Linked DNA regions of Homo sapiens: region 1 is linked to region 2. The links are contacts of gene promoters, found by promoter capture Hi-C in human tissues and cell types (Jung and others, 2019). All regions are on one chromosome and are shown on one strand. Each heading gives the region's core, a stretch centred on a gene start or on the middle of the fragment in contact. The rest is flanking DNA. Distances are from core to core; before and after follow the strand shown. Region 1 overlaps CAMKMT (calmodulin-lysine N-methyltransferase). Region 2 holds the start of SLC3A1 (solute carrier family 3 member 1).

Region 1 (6,627 bases), core at 244-2,743, 420 kb after region 2:
GTTCAGGCGATTTTCCTGCCTCAGCCTCCCGAATAACTGGAATTATAGGCGTACACCACCATGCCTGGCTAATTTTTGTATTTTTAGTAGAAACGGGGTTTCACTATGTTGGCCAGGGTTGTCTTGAACTCCTGACCTTAAGTGATCTGCCCGCCTCAGCCTCCCAAAGTGCTGGGATTACAGGCGTGAGCCACTGTGCCCGGCCAAAAATGTTTAAAAACATTATAGCAAATATTTACATAGCACTTATATTGGATATGCATGCAAATACTACATCATGTTATATAAGGGACTTTAATATCTGCAAATTTTGGTATGGAGTGGAGGAGTCCTAGAACTAATCCCCCACAAATATTGAGGGGCAGTTGTACTTCTAAAAGAAGGAGTTGAAGGGGATGAAACTAAGGAGAATTGATTGAAAGTTGTTTAAGAAGTAGTTATATCCCCATTTCAGGTGACTGGGCAACTCTTCTCCCTCTACTCCAACAAAAAACTGGAGGTTTATTCTTTGGAGAGGGTTAAACTGGGGATTTTGGGCTTGGGAGACACCAGGTACAGTTGAAAGCAGAGAATACGAAAAGCCAGGTGGAGTGACTAAGTGAACATATGCAGACTGAATGATGAGCCCCACACCCTCACCCCACTCACCTACACTCAGCCTTCTTTACTTCCAGAATTACCAGATACCTGAGGGAAGCTTTTAATGTGACAGATAACAAAACCAAGAAACAGAAAAAAACAACTTGAAAAAAACAGACTTTATAAAGATGAGAAAACTTAAAAGAAACTATAATTAATACTTTCAAATAATTAAGACATTGCATTCATGAAACAGGAATAGGATGCTTATAAAAGAAACATTCAGAGAATGACCATCAATAACAATAGCATATATTAAAAGAACAATAAAAAGGTTAGAAGATAAAGTTGAGGACATTTCCAAGAAAGTAGAAAACAATAAGAGATGCAAAGCAAGAAAGAAAAGATTTTTTAAAATAAAAGGATGAGTTCAGGAGATTCAACATCCAAATAATAACAGTTGCAGAAGAAGAGAACAGAGAAATATGGAGTAAGGAAATAATCGATGATACTTTGTAAGAAACTTTCCAAGAACTGAAGAACATGGAGTTTCTGGATTGAAATTACCCACTGAATCATGCAAGTTCTTAAACATTTACCTCTCCTACCCCCTTTTTCAAGAAACTACTGGAGGACGTGTTACACTAAAATGAGGGAATAAACCAAGAAAGAGGAAGACAATGGGTAGAGGAAACAAGAGATGGAACCCAGGAGAAAGGCAAAAGGAGCCTGGGATGATAGTGAAGATTAGGCTGTCAGCTGTGTACCAAGCATAGAGGGCATTCAGTCCAGACTAAGGCAGGTTAGAAGATACCAGGAGAGATTTCCTCATAAGGTTGATAGAACACCCATTGTGAATGAATGTATTGAGAGGAGAAATTGACAACTGAAGTTTGAGGTTGCCTAAAAATCTTAGCAAATGAGGGGGGAAAAGACCTTTATAAACTCCAGAGAAAACAAAAATGTGTGCATGAAAGAAAAAACAATCATAGTTTACTACATAGCTGTTTTATTTCCTAGTCATAATAAAATCAACTGGGGAGTGATCTTACCAAAATTTTAACATTATAACTATTATTGTAATATTAAAATATAATATTAAGCAGATGGCGTGGGGTGGATAAGGGGCACACATATGTGATGTGGGAAGAGGAATAGAGATAAAAGCAAAAAATGCTAATTTTGCACAGTGAGGGGTCAGTAGATTTTGCTTGAAACTGAAAAATCAAGAAGCAACAATACAAACTTATTATGTAGAAATATAAACACAATTACCAGAAGAGTTAGCTAAAAGAGTTGAAAGTAATAGTTTCTGGGGAAGCAGAAATACTGGGGAAAGGGGCTTGGTGCTACTGTTTGTCTTAGCCATTCTAATAGATCCCAATGGCTCTTTAAACTATGTGTCTCTATAACTAATTTGAAAAGAAAATCTTTTTGAAAGGCAATTTTATTCCCACAAATAAGAATGAGAAAACTTTAAAAAGTAGCAGCTTTATTGAGATATAATTCACATACCATACAATTCATCCAGTGGTAGTTAGTGTATTCACACACTTGTGCAACTGTCACCACAATTTTAGAATATTTTGTCACCTCCAAAAGAAACCTTATACTCATTGGCAGTCATGCTCCATTTACACCTAACCATTGTTGCCCTGGGCAGTTACCATGCCACACTCCATCTTTATGAATATACCTATTCTGGATATTTCATATAAATAAAAACATACAACATGTGGTCCTTTGTAACTGGTTTCTTTCACTCAGTACAGGCATACCTTGGAGATATTGAGGGTTTGGTTCCAGACCACTGCAATTAAGTGAATATCACAATAAAGTAAGTCACACAAATTCTTTGCTTTCCTGGTGCATATAAAAGTTTGCACTATACTGTAGCTTAAGTGTGCAATAGCATTATGTCTAAAAAGATGCACATACCTTACTAAAAATACTTTATTGCTAAAAAATACTAATGATTATCTGAGCTTTCTGTGAGTTGTCATCTTTTTGCTGGCAGAGGGTCTTGCCTTGATGATGGCTGCTAACTGATGGTTAGCAGGGTGATGGTTGCTGAAAGTTAGGGTGGCTGTGGCAATTTCTTAAAATAAGACAATGCAGTTTGCCACATTGGTTGACTCTTCCTTTCAGGAAAGATTTCGCTGTAGCATGCGATGCTATTTGACAGCATTTTACCCACAGTAGAACTTCTTTCGAAATTGGAGTCAATCCTCTCAAACCCTGCCACTGCTTTATCAACTCAGTTTATGTAATATTCTAAATCCTTTGTTGTAATTTCGACAGTGTTCACAGCATCTTCACCAGGAATTGATTCCATCTTAAGAAACTACCTTCTTTACCCGTGCGTAAGAAGGAACTCCTCATCCTTTCAGGTTTGATCATGAGATTGCAGCAATTCAGTCACGTCTTCAGGCTCCATTTCTCATTCTAGTTCTCTTGCTATTTCCACCTCTCAAAATCATCCACGAATGTTGAAATCAATTCTTCCAACTCCTGTTAACACTGATATTTTGACCTCCTCCCATGACTCACAAATGTTCTTAATGGCATCTAGAATAGTGAGTCCTTTCCAGAAGATTTTCAACTGACTTTGCTCAGATGCATCAGAAGAATCACTGTATTTGGCAGCTATATCCTTATGAAATGTATTTCTGAAATAATAAGATTTGAAAGTCAAAATGACTCCTTGATCCATGGACTACAGAATGGATGCTGTGTTAGCAGGCATGGAAACAACATTAATCTCCTTGCATATCTCCATCAGTGCCCTTTGGTGACCAGGTGCATTGTCAATGAGCAGTATATAATATTTTGAAGGGAAGTGCTTTTTTCGGAGCAGTAGGTCTTAGCAGTGAGCTTAAAATATTCAGTAAACCATGCTATAAACAGATGTACTATCATCCAGGCTTTACTGTTCCATTTATAGAGCATAAGCAGAGTAGATTTTGCATAATTCCTTTTCTCTTATTTTTTTTTTAAGAGACAGGGTTTCACTATGTTGTCCAGGGTGGAGTGCAGTGGCTATTCACATATTCAATCCTAGCCCACTACAGCCTCCAGCTCCTGGGCTTACTCAAGCAATCCTCCTTCCTCGCCCTCCTGAGTAGCCCGATAGGCACCTGCCACTGAGCCAGGCTAGACTTAGCATAATTCTTAAAGGCGCTATGATTTTTAGAATGGTGCAGAGCATTGGCATCAACTTAGTCACCAGCCGCACTAGCCCCTAACAAGAGACTCAGCCTGTCCTTTGGATCTTTGAAGCCAGGCAGTGAATTCTCTCTAGCTACCAAAGTCCTAGATGGCATCTGCTTCCAATGGAAGGCTTCCAATGTTTGTCTGCATTGAAAATCTGTTGGTTAGTGTAGTCATCTTCATCAGTGATCTTAGCTACATCTTCTGGATAACTTGCTACAGCTTCTACATCAGCACTTACTGCTTTGCCTTGCACTTTTGTGTTACAGAAATGGCTTCTTTATTTAAACATCTTGAACTAACCTCCACTAGCTTCAAACTTTTCTTCTGCAGATTCCTCACCTTCAGCCTTCATAGAATTGAAGAGTTAGGGCCTTGCTCTGGATTGGGCTTTGGCTTAAGAGAACGTTGTGGCTGGTTTGATCTATCCAGACCACTAAAACTTTCTCCATATCAGCAATAAGGCTGTTTTGTCTTCTTATCATTCGTGTGTTCACTGGAGTAACACTTTTAAGTTCCTTCAAGAACTTTTCTTTTACATTCACAACTTGTCTGTTTAGTGCAAGAGGCCTAGCTTTCAGCCTATCTCAGCTTTCAACATGCCTTCTCCATAAGTGGAATCATTTCTAGCTTTTGATTTAAAGTGAGAGACATGCAACTATTCCTTTCACTTGAACACTTAGAGACCATTTGTTAAGTTTATTAATTAGCCTAATAATAGGGAGGCCTGGGGAGAGGGAGAGAGATGGGGGAATGCCGACTGGTGGAGAAGTCAGAACACACACAAGATTTATTGATTAAGTTTGCTAGCTATCTTATATGGACGCAATTCATGCCGCCCCAAAACAATTACCATAGTAACATCAAAGGTCATTGATCACAGATCACCATATCAGATATAATAATAATGAAAAATTTTGAAATATTGTGAGAATGACCAAAATCTGTCACAGAGACACTAGTTGAGCACATGCTGTTGGAAAAATGGCACCAATGGACTTGCTCGGTGCAGGGTTGCCACAAACCTTCAATTTGTAAAACTGTAGATATGCAGCATCTACAAAGCACAATAAAGAAAGCTGCAATAAAATGGAGTATTGCCTGTATAACGTTTTCAAGTCCCATCTATGTTGTAGCATGTATCAGTTCTTCTTTTATTGTCAAATAATAATCCATTGTATGGACGTACCACATTTTATTTATCCGTTAGTCAGTTGATGGACATTGGGGTTGTTTCCACTTTTGGGCTACTAAGAACAATGCTGCTATGAGCATTCGTGTACAAGTTTTTGTTGGACATATTTTGATTTATCTTGGGTAGCAGTGGAATTGCTGGGTCATATTATAATCTACATTTAACCTTTTAAGGAACTGCTACACAATTTTCCAAAGTGGCTACATGATTTTACATTCCCACCAGCAGTGCATCAGGGTTCCAATTTCTCCACATCCTCACCAGCCCAACATTCGTTATAACCTGACTATTTGATTGTAGCCATCCTAGTGGGTGTGAAGTGGTATCTCATTTAGGTTTTGATTTTCACTGAGATAACTTTTAAAAACTTAGATTAGCAAAAATTAGTTATGTTGAAAAAATCCTATCTGGGCAAGGCTTTGAGGAAACAAACACTCTGATTAGGAGTGTAACTTGGTGCACATTTTATGGAGGTCAGTTTGATATATTTAAATGCAAAATATATGTAACCTCTGACCAGATATCCCATTTCCTAGTATTTGACCTAAGGAGAAAACCATAGGTTGGGAAAAGATGGGTTGTCATATTGTACTACTGTTGATGTTAATGGCAAAAACCACAATTACTTTTGCATCAACACAATAATCTCATCATATCAACAACTTTGAAACTAACTTAAATGTCTGTCAAGAGGAAACTGGTTAAATGAATTCTGATTCACACATAGAATGTCTAAGCAATCATTATAAATAATGATGCAGGTAAAGTACATTTTTATTTTCTAGTAAAGCTATCTACCACATATTGAATGAGGGAAAATCAGGTTATTGAATATCTTCATGAAAAGATCCCATTGGTGTAAAATATCTGTTTGCCTAGAAAGATCTTTTGAGATGACGTCCAAAATGTTAACAGTGATTATATCCTAGTGGTCACATTTTACGTGATTTTTTTTTTTACTTTGTTCTTTGTATGTAATTTTGTTAAAAATCAGCCTCTATAATTTTTTGAGACAATTATAAAACTATTACAAAGTACTGCATTTTAGAAGTCGCATTTTTGTACTTAATCAAGGCTTAAATTTTAGTTAGATACTCTTTGTCTATCATTTTTTTAAAACCTCAAGCTAAAGGCATAAAGAAATTCATTATAGTGGTGATTATGTTCACTTGGTGTAGAGCATTGTCTTATGCTCTTCCTTCAGAGACTTTTATTTATACTTTGGTCTTAATAGAGTTATTTTTATGTGGAGATATGACCGGTATTAGGATTTGCAGTAACAGGTCAAAATGGTTTTCCATTTTTCTGGTTATTGGGATACGAATTTTGGATTCACATATTCTCTCTTCCACTCTTCCATCCCTCTTTGCTGGAGAATAACATTAACAATGCTTTCTTTTTCTTTGATCTTATTATGTGTTAGGAACCATTCTAAACATAGGCATGTATTTTACTCATCTCTCAGGCCAGTCCTGTGAGGTTGACAATACTGCAATGATATTTTACAAATGAGGAGCATGAGGGATAGGCAGGTTAAGTAACCTGTCCAAGGTCACTCCACAGGGGAATGGCAGAGCTGGCACTGGAGCCCAATAAGTCTGGTTCCAAAATATCTGTGATCTTAACTGCCACATTCCACTGCC
Region 2 (7,018 bases), core at 2,356-4,855:
GCTATATCCTTAGAAAGAGTTGTACATGATTGCTCGTAGCAATTTTATTTATAATAGCCAAAAACAAACGAAAAAAATCCCACATGCCCACTTATAAACTGTGGTGTATATTCTTTTTTTGTTTTGAACCTCACTCTGTCACCTAGGCTGGAGTGCAGTGGGGTGATCACAGCTCACTGCAGTCTTGGCCTCCTGGGCTCAAGCAATCCTGCCTTAGCCTCCTGAGTAGCTGGGATTACAGGCGCACGCCACCCCGCCCAGCTAATTTTGTATTTTTGAGTAGAGACAGGGTTTCCTCATGTTTGTCAGGCTTGTCCTCAACTCCTGACCTCAGGTGATCTGCCCGCCTTGGCCTCCAAAAGTGCTGGGATTACAGGCCTGAGCCACGGCGCCTGGCCAGGAGCAGAGGTTTAATAGGCGGAAGAAGGAGAAAGACAAAGGAAAATAGCTCTCTCTCTAGTGAGAAAGAAGGGACTTCCAAGAGGAAAAGGTCAGCTGGTGGATACGCCAGATTTTATAGTCCAGCTTGAGGAGGCCGTGTCTGATTTAGGTAGGGCTCACAGGTTTTTTGGGTCAGGTGTGACGTTTACATAGCACACAGGGAAGGCTGGTGGCCCCACTCTAATCTTATTATGCAAATGAACTCTCCACTTGGCCGGTGCCATCTTGTCTGCTCCTTACTGTACACGTGGCTGGCAGAGAAGGGGAGGTGCAGCCGCCATTTTGAACATGTCTAGTCCCAGGTAGTTCTTTCCTGTCGCATCCACCTGTGCAAGCTCCCGGCTTGCTTGTCTATGTCTGCAGCTTGACTTTACTGGCTGCTCTTTGTTAGAAAATGATTTGGGGCATGGCATGGTGGCTCACGCCTATAATCCCAGCACTTTGGGAGGCCGAGTCAGGTGGATCACCTGAGGTCAGGAGTCGGAGAGCAGTCTGGCCAACTTAGTGAAACCCTGTCTCTACTGAAAATACAAAAAATTAGCTGGGTGTGTTGGCGGGCACCTGTAATCCCAGCTGCACAGCAGGCTGAGGCAGGAGAATCGGTTGAACCCGGGAGGTGGAGGTTGTGGGTGAGCTGAGATCACGCCATTGCACTCCAGCCTGGGCAATAAGAGTGAAACTCCATCTCAAAAAATAAAAATAAAAAATATTCAATGGGCATAATTAATAATAATGAGAGGTATCACTGGGTGCATTCAATGAGCCAAGTATTGGGATTTACTCAGTTTTAAATGTAATTTGTCCAAGATCAAGTAGCTCATTCCTCCATACCTCTATACTATACAATGCTTCTAAGCCACTCCACAAAGAGACACTAAGATTAGGGCCCCAGATAACTATCATCATTTAAAAGAAAAAAAAGTCTCATTATCAGATCAAACGATTCATAGGACTGTATGTGCTCCTGATGAAAGGGACATCATAAATCATTACATTCCTTTTTGTTGTTGTTGAGACAGAATCTTGCTCTGTCACCCAGGCTGGAGTGCAGTGGCGTGATCTCAGCTCACTGCAACCTCTGTCTCCTCGGCTCATCTCAGCTCACTGCAACCTCTGCCTCCTGGGCTCAAGTGATCCTCCCACATCAGCCTGCCTCCTGAGTAATTGGGACTACATGGGTGCACCACCATGTTCAGCTAATTTTAAATTTCTTTTGTAGAGATGAGGTGTTACTATATTGTCCAGGCTGGTCTCCAACTCCTGGGCTTAAGCTATCTTCCCACTTTCTCTATTTAACCATGTATAAGAAAAATAATTTCCCCCCAAAGTCATTTTTCTTATACCTGGCTAAATAGAGAAAGCTTTAAGCTTTAAAAAAAGTTGTGGTAAAACATCTGTAACATTTCAGTGGCATTACGTATGTTTATACTGTTATGCAACCATCACCACTATCATCTCAGGAATACTTTTCATCATCCCAAACTGAAATTCTCTGCCCAATGAACAATAACTCCCCATTATTCCCTTCCTCCAACCTCCAGTAACCACGTTTCTATTTTCTGTTCCTATGAATCCTACTACTCAAGATACCTCATCTAAGTGAAATCACACTTGCCCTTTTGGGTCTGGCTTATTGCACTTAGCATAATGTCCTCCAGGTTCATCTATGTTGCAGCATGTGTCAGAATTTCAGTCCTTTATTTATGTATTGGAGACAGTCTCACTCCATCACCCAAGCTGGAGTGCAGTGGTGCTATCTCAGCTCATTGCAACTTCTGCCTCCTGGGTTCAAGCGATTCTCCTGCCTCAGCCTCCCAAGTAGCTGGAATTACAGCATATGTCCCCATGCCCAGCTATTTTTTTTTTTTTTTTTTTTGAGATGGAGTTTCACTCTTGTTGCCCAGGCTGGACCGCAATGGCGTGATCTCCATTCACCGCAACCTCCGCCTTCCAGGTTCAACCGATTCTCCTGCCTCAGCCTCCCAAGTAGCTGGGACTACAGGCATGCGCCACCACACCTGGCTAATTTTGTATTTTTAGTAGAGACGGGGTTTCTCCATGTTGGTCAGGCTGGTCTTGAACTCCCAACCTCAGGTGATTCACTGGCCTCGGCCTCCTAAAGTATTGAGATTACAGGCGTGAGCCACCGCGCCTGGCCTAATTTTTGTATTTTTAATAGAGATGGGTTTTGCCATGTTGGCCAGGCTGGTCTCCAATTCCTGACCTCAAGTGATCCACCCGCCTTGTCCTCCCAAAGTGTTGGGATTACAGGCGTGATCCACCATGCCCAGCCTTCATTCCTTTTCAAAGCTGAATAATATTTCACTATATGTATAACCACATTGTTTATCTATCCATCTGATGATAGCTACCTGGGTTGTTTCCAATTTTTAATTTTTTAATTTATTTTTAGTTTCATTTTATTTTTATTTTCTTTCTTATTTATTTATTTTATTTTTTGAGACAGAGTCTCCCTCTGTCACCCAGGGTGGAGTGCCATGGCTCGATGTCAGCTCACTGCAACCTCTGCCTCCTGGGTTCAAGTGATTCTCCTGCCTCAGCCTCCTGAGTAGCTGGGATTACAGGCATGCACCACCACGCCCGGCTAATTTTTGTATTTTTAGTAGAGACGGGGTTTCACCATGTTGGCCAGGCTGGTCTTAAACTCTTGACCTCGGGTGACCTGCCTGCCTCAGCCTCCCAAACTGCTGGGATTACAGGTGTGAGCCAAGATGCCCAGTGGAGATTTTTTTTTTTTTTGTGGGATGGATTCTCGCTCTTGTCGCCCAGGCTGGAGTGCAGTGGTACGATCTCGGCTCACTGCAACGTCTGTCTTCCGGGGTCAAACGATTCTCCTGCCTCAGCCTCCCGAGCAGCTGGGATTACAGGTGCACACCACCACGCCTGGCTAATTTTTATACCTTTAGTAGAGACGGGGTTTGGCCATGTTGGCCAGGCTAGTCTCAAACTCCTGCCCTTGGTGATCTGCCCGCCTCGGCCTCCCAAAGTGCTGGGATTACAGGCATGAACCACCGCGCCAGTCCCGAGATTTTTTTTTTAAACCTCTGTACTTTTACCCTTTCTTCCTTGGCTGGACTTTGTCCAGCTAGGTTTATTTATAAACCACACAAAGTTCATTAACAAGACCAAGCATTCAGCAAGCCACTCTTCCACCTCCCTTACTGCAGGAAGGCACTCCGAAGACATAAGTCGGTGAGACATGGCTGAAGATAAAAGCAAGAGAGACTCCATCGAGATGAGTATGAAGGGATGCCAGACAAACAACGGGTTTGTCCATAATGAAGACATTCTGGAGCAGACCCCGGATCCAGGAAGCTCAACAGACAACCTGAAGCACAGCACCAGGGGCATCCTTGGCTCCCAGGAGCCCGACTTCAAGGGCGTCCAGCCCTATGCGGGGATGCCCAAGGAGGTGCTGTTCCAGTTCTCTGGCCAGGCCCGCTACCGCATACCTCGGGAGATCCTCTTCTGGCTCACAGTGGCTTCTGTGCTGGTGCTCATCGCGGCCACCATAGCCATCATTGCCCTCTCTCCAAAGTGCCTAGACTGGTGGCAGGAGGGGCCCATGTACCAGATCTACCCAAGGTCTTTCAAGGACAGTAACAAGGATGGGAACGGAGATCTGAAAGGTACATGCCCAGAGATCATTTAGGGTGGGTGCCAGGATGAGATTGGTTTATGGTTCTTTTGTTCTTCAGAACCAAATTATGCCTGGGTTGTTCAGTAAGCACATTCCATTATGACTGGTCATGCCAAGTTGCTCCTTGTTTATGATATTCTTAGAAAATCACTCAGCAGAACCCAGCAGTTATTTTACTAGCTGAAGGGCTATTTGCTGAAGGCCTTTGAGCCAAACGAGTTGTTTAATTTATTGCCCACTAAGTACATACAGTTGTTCAGTCATCAATTCTAACTTCTTAGAGCAGCCTTCCTTCTAAAATCTATGTCCTGTTTCTGGGGACTTTATAGTTGAATATGTCAGGGTGGCAGTTGGGAATTGCTTTCCCAGTATACGAAGCAGCTAGTTTGGCTGTGTGGCTGGGAGTGTATTAGTGAATAAAGCATAAATAATATTTTTTTAAAAATCAAGTGATATCTGTAAAAAGTATAGGCTGAGTCTTAAAGTTTAAATTCTAAAAAAGGAAGGGAAGTAGAAAAGGGGTAGCAGTATGCATTCGTCATTACTTGAATTAAGGATTGTTTAAAACCATGTCCGTATTAGTATAAAACAAGTAAAGAATTAACCAGGGGTAGTGGCGCATGACTGTAGTTGCAGCTACTTGGGAGGCTGAGGTGGGAGGATCGCTTGAGCCCAGGAGCTCTCAGCCAGCCAGCTTAGGCAACATAGGGAGACCCCGTCTCCAAAAAGAAAAAAAAAAAAGTGAAAAATTATTTTTTAAAAGCTAAGTTAATTTCTTGGTGGGTTATGTGTAAAACATCCTTACAATATATTGCTCAAACCAGAACATACTTCAGAGTAAAATTATGCCAGATGGCAGGCATACACTGGGAACTTCTGAGCAAATTGGTTGGTATGGTCACTCTACTTCAAGGCAACAATAGGAAACAAATAAGGAAACTAACAAACTAATGTTTTACAATGATAATTGGTTTGAAGAAAACAAAACAGGATGATATGAATGTGGAAAGTAGGAATGGGCTTAATGTATCTTTAAAATGCTACAAATGAATTCTTGAAACCTGCAGCTTTCTTTAATCACTAGTAGAAGGCTTTTCTTTTTCACGCTCCTATCATTCTCTCTCTTCTTTTTTTTTTTTTTTTTTTTTGTGATGGAGTTTCACTCTTGTTGCCCAGGCTGGAGTGCAATGGCATAATCTCAGCTCACTGCAACCTCCGTCACCTGGGTTCAAGCAATTCTCTCGGCTCAGCGTTCCGAGTAGCAGGGATTACAGGCATGCACCATCATGCCTGGCTAATTTTGTATTTTTAATAGAGACGAGGGTTCTCCATGTTGGTCAGGCTAGTCTCGAACTCCTGACCTCAGGTGATTTGCCCCCCCTTGGCCTCCCAAAACTCTGGGATTACAGGCATGAGCCACCGCATCCGGCTGTATCATTCTCGTTTTAAAAATCATCCTGCATTGTCACTCATTGAAGAAGAGTGTATCTGTCCTTCATGGTGCAGCTCAAACCCATTGCCTTCATTACTCTTTCTTTAGCCTCCCTAATCAGACCATGGGCTCCCCACCCCAGATCTTCGGCTTTGGATGTGTTTCTAGCATCCTTTAATCCTGCCTTGAGTGACTCCCTTTCCCCTGACTCATGACCTATGACCTGCTGCCTTTTGCACATTGAGTGCTTAGGAAAAGCAATGCTCTGACTGCATAGACCTAAAGCCCTAAATCCAGAGATATGTTTACCACTTCCTGGCCCTGCCTTCTTAATAATCTCCTTCTGGATAGGTCCAACATTCCTGTAAACATGGTGGTTTCTAATCAGCTCTGATGTTTGTCATTTCCAATACCTGTTCTTGGAGGAATGTTTTACTTCCTGCAATCCATAGGCATTTGTCTTTGAGGTTGAAGGGATTTCATTGTTGTTATTATGAAGATCCCATTCCAGCTTTGAGTCTGGTTTTGGTGATTGCCCTCTCTCCTTCTAAAATGTGGGGTGGGATCCCTTGTTTACTTTCTCCAGCCACTTTGTTTTCATCCTCATGTTCCTTTGTGCCTCATCATAAGATATATTTTGTTGCTGTGCTGGCTTAGATCAAAACCCTCTTGCTGCCTGTTGATACCGTGTGAGATCTTGCAGCTACCCATATGGGGGAACTGGGGTACAGAGACAGAAATAAGCAGCCTGTCAGGCCAGGCGTGGTGGCTCACGCCTGTAATCCCAGCACTTTGGGAGGCCGAGGCAGGTGGATCACGAGGTCAGGAGATTGAGACCATCCTGGCTAACACGGTGAAACCCCGTCTCTACTAAAAAAATACAAAAAAAATCAGCTGGGCGTGGTGGCGGGTGCCTGTATTCCCAGCTATTTGGGTGGCTGAGGCAGGAGAATGGCGTGAACCCAGGAGGCGGAGGTTGCAGTGAGCTAAGATCGCACCACTGCACTCCAGCCTGGGCGACAGAGCGAGACTCCATCTCAAAAATAAATAAATAAATAAATAAATAAAATAAAATAAAATAAATAAGCAGTGTGTTATAGGGGAAAAGCCCAGATCCCAGGTGTCGAATGACTCTGTGCTTTGGAATTAGTGACCTTCAGCCTGCGGTGTGGCCTCTGACAGTCTAATTCTAGGAAGTCACATCAGGATTACACAGAAAGTTACTGGAGATTGAATTCTAGACTCAAGTTGCTGAATATGCATTTGGGACTCTGAACTAGAAGGAGAAAACACATTATCTGCTCATTATCCTACAAAGTTCTAAATACAAAGTTTCATTTCCACATGTCTTCTCAGCCAAGCCTAGAATTCTCTTCTGTATAAATTCCTGGGTTCCTATATAAGTGAACAAGGGAAATAGTCCAAATTTAGCAAGTTCAAAGGCAGTCTGAGAGTGGAAACAAAGACTCCTCAAATATTGGCAC

Evidence for each region. The method cuts DNA at HindIII sites, captures the fragments that hold promoters and counts their contacts. A contact is called where the count stands out against the background at its distance.
Region 1: a contact is called between a fragment that was not itself captured here and the fragment with the promoter of SLC3A1 in region 2, in 1 of the 25 tissues and cell types used here (aorta).

What each region holds. Positions count from the first base shown.
Region 1 is chr2:44,696,038-44,702,664 of GRCh38, forward strand. The region is part of intron 3 of CAMKMT (calmodulin-lysine N-methyltransferase); the gene reads left to right. Among named protein-coding and RNA genes, the nearest start is that of LINC01833, 240 kb to the right of the region's middle. The HindIII fragment of the contact is 7,126 bases long and covers 1-5,056 here.
Region 2 is chr2:44,271,875-44,278,892 of GRCh38, forward strand. SLC3A1 (solute carrier family 3 member 1) reads left to right here and starts at 3,606. Exons shown (of 10, transcript NM_000341.4): 1 at 3,606-4,091. The coding sequence starts at 3,662. The HindIII fragment of the contact is 25,171 bases long and covers 1-7,018 here.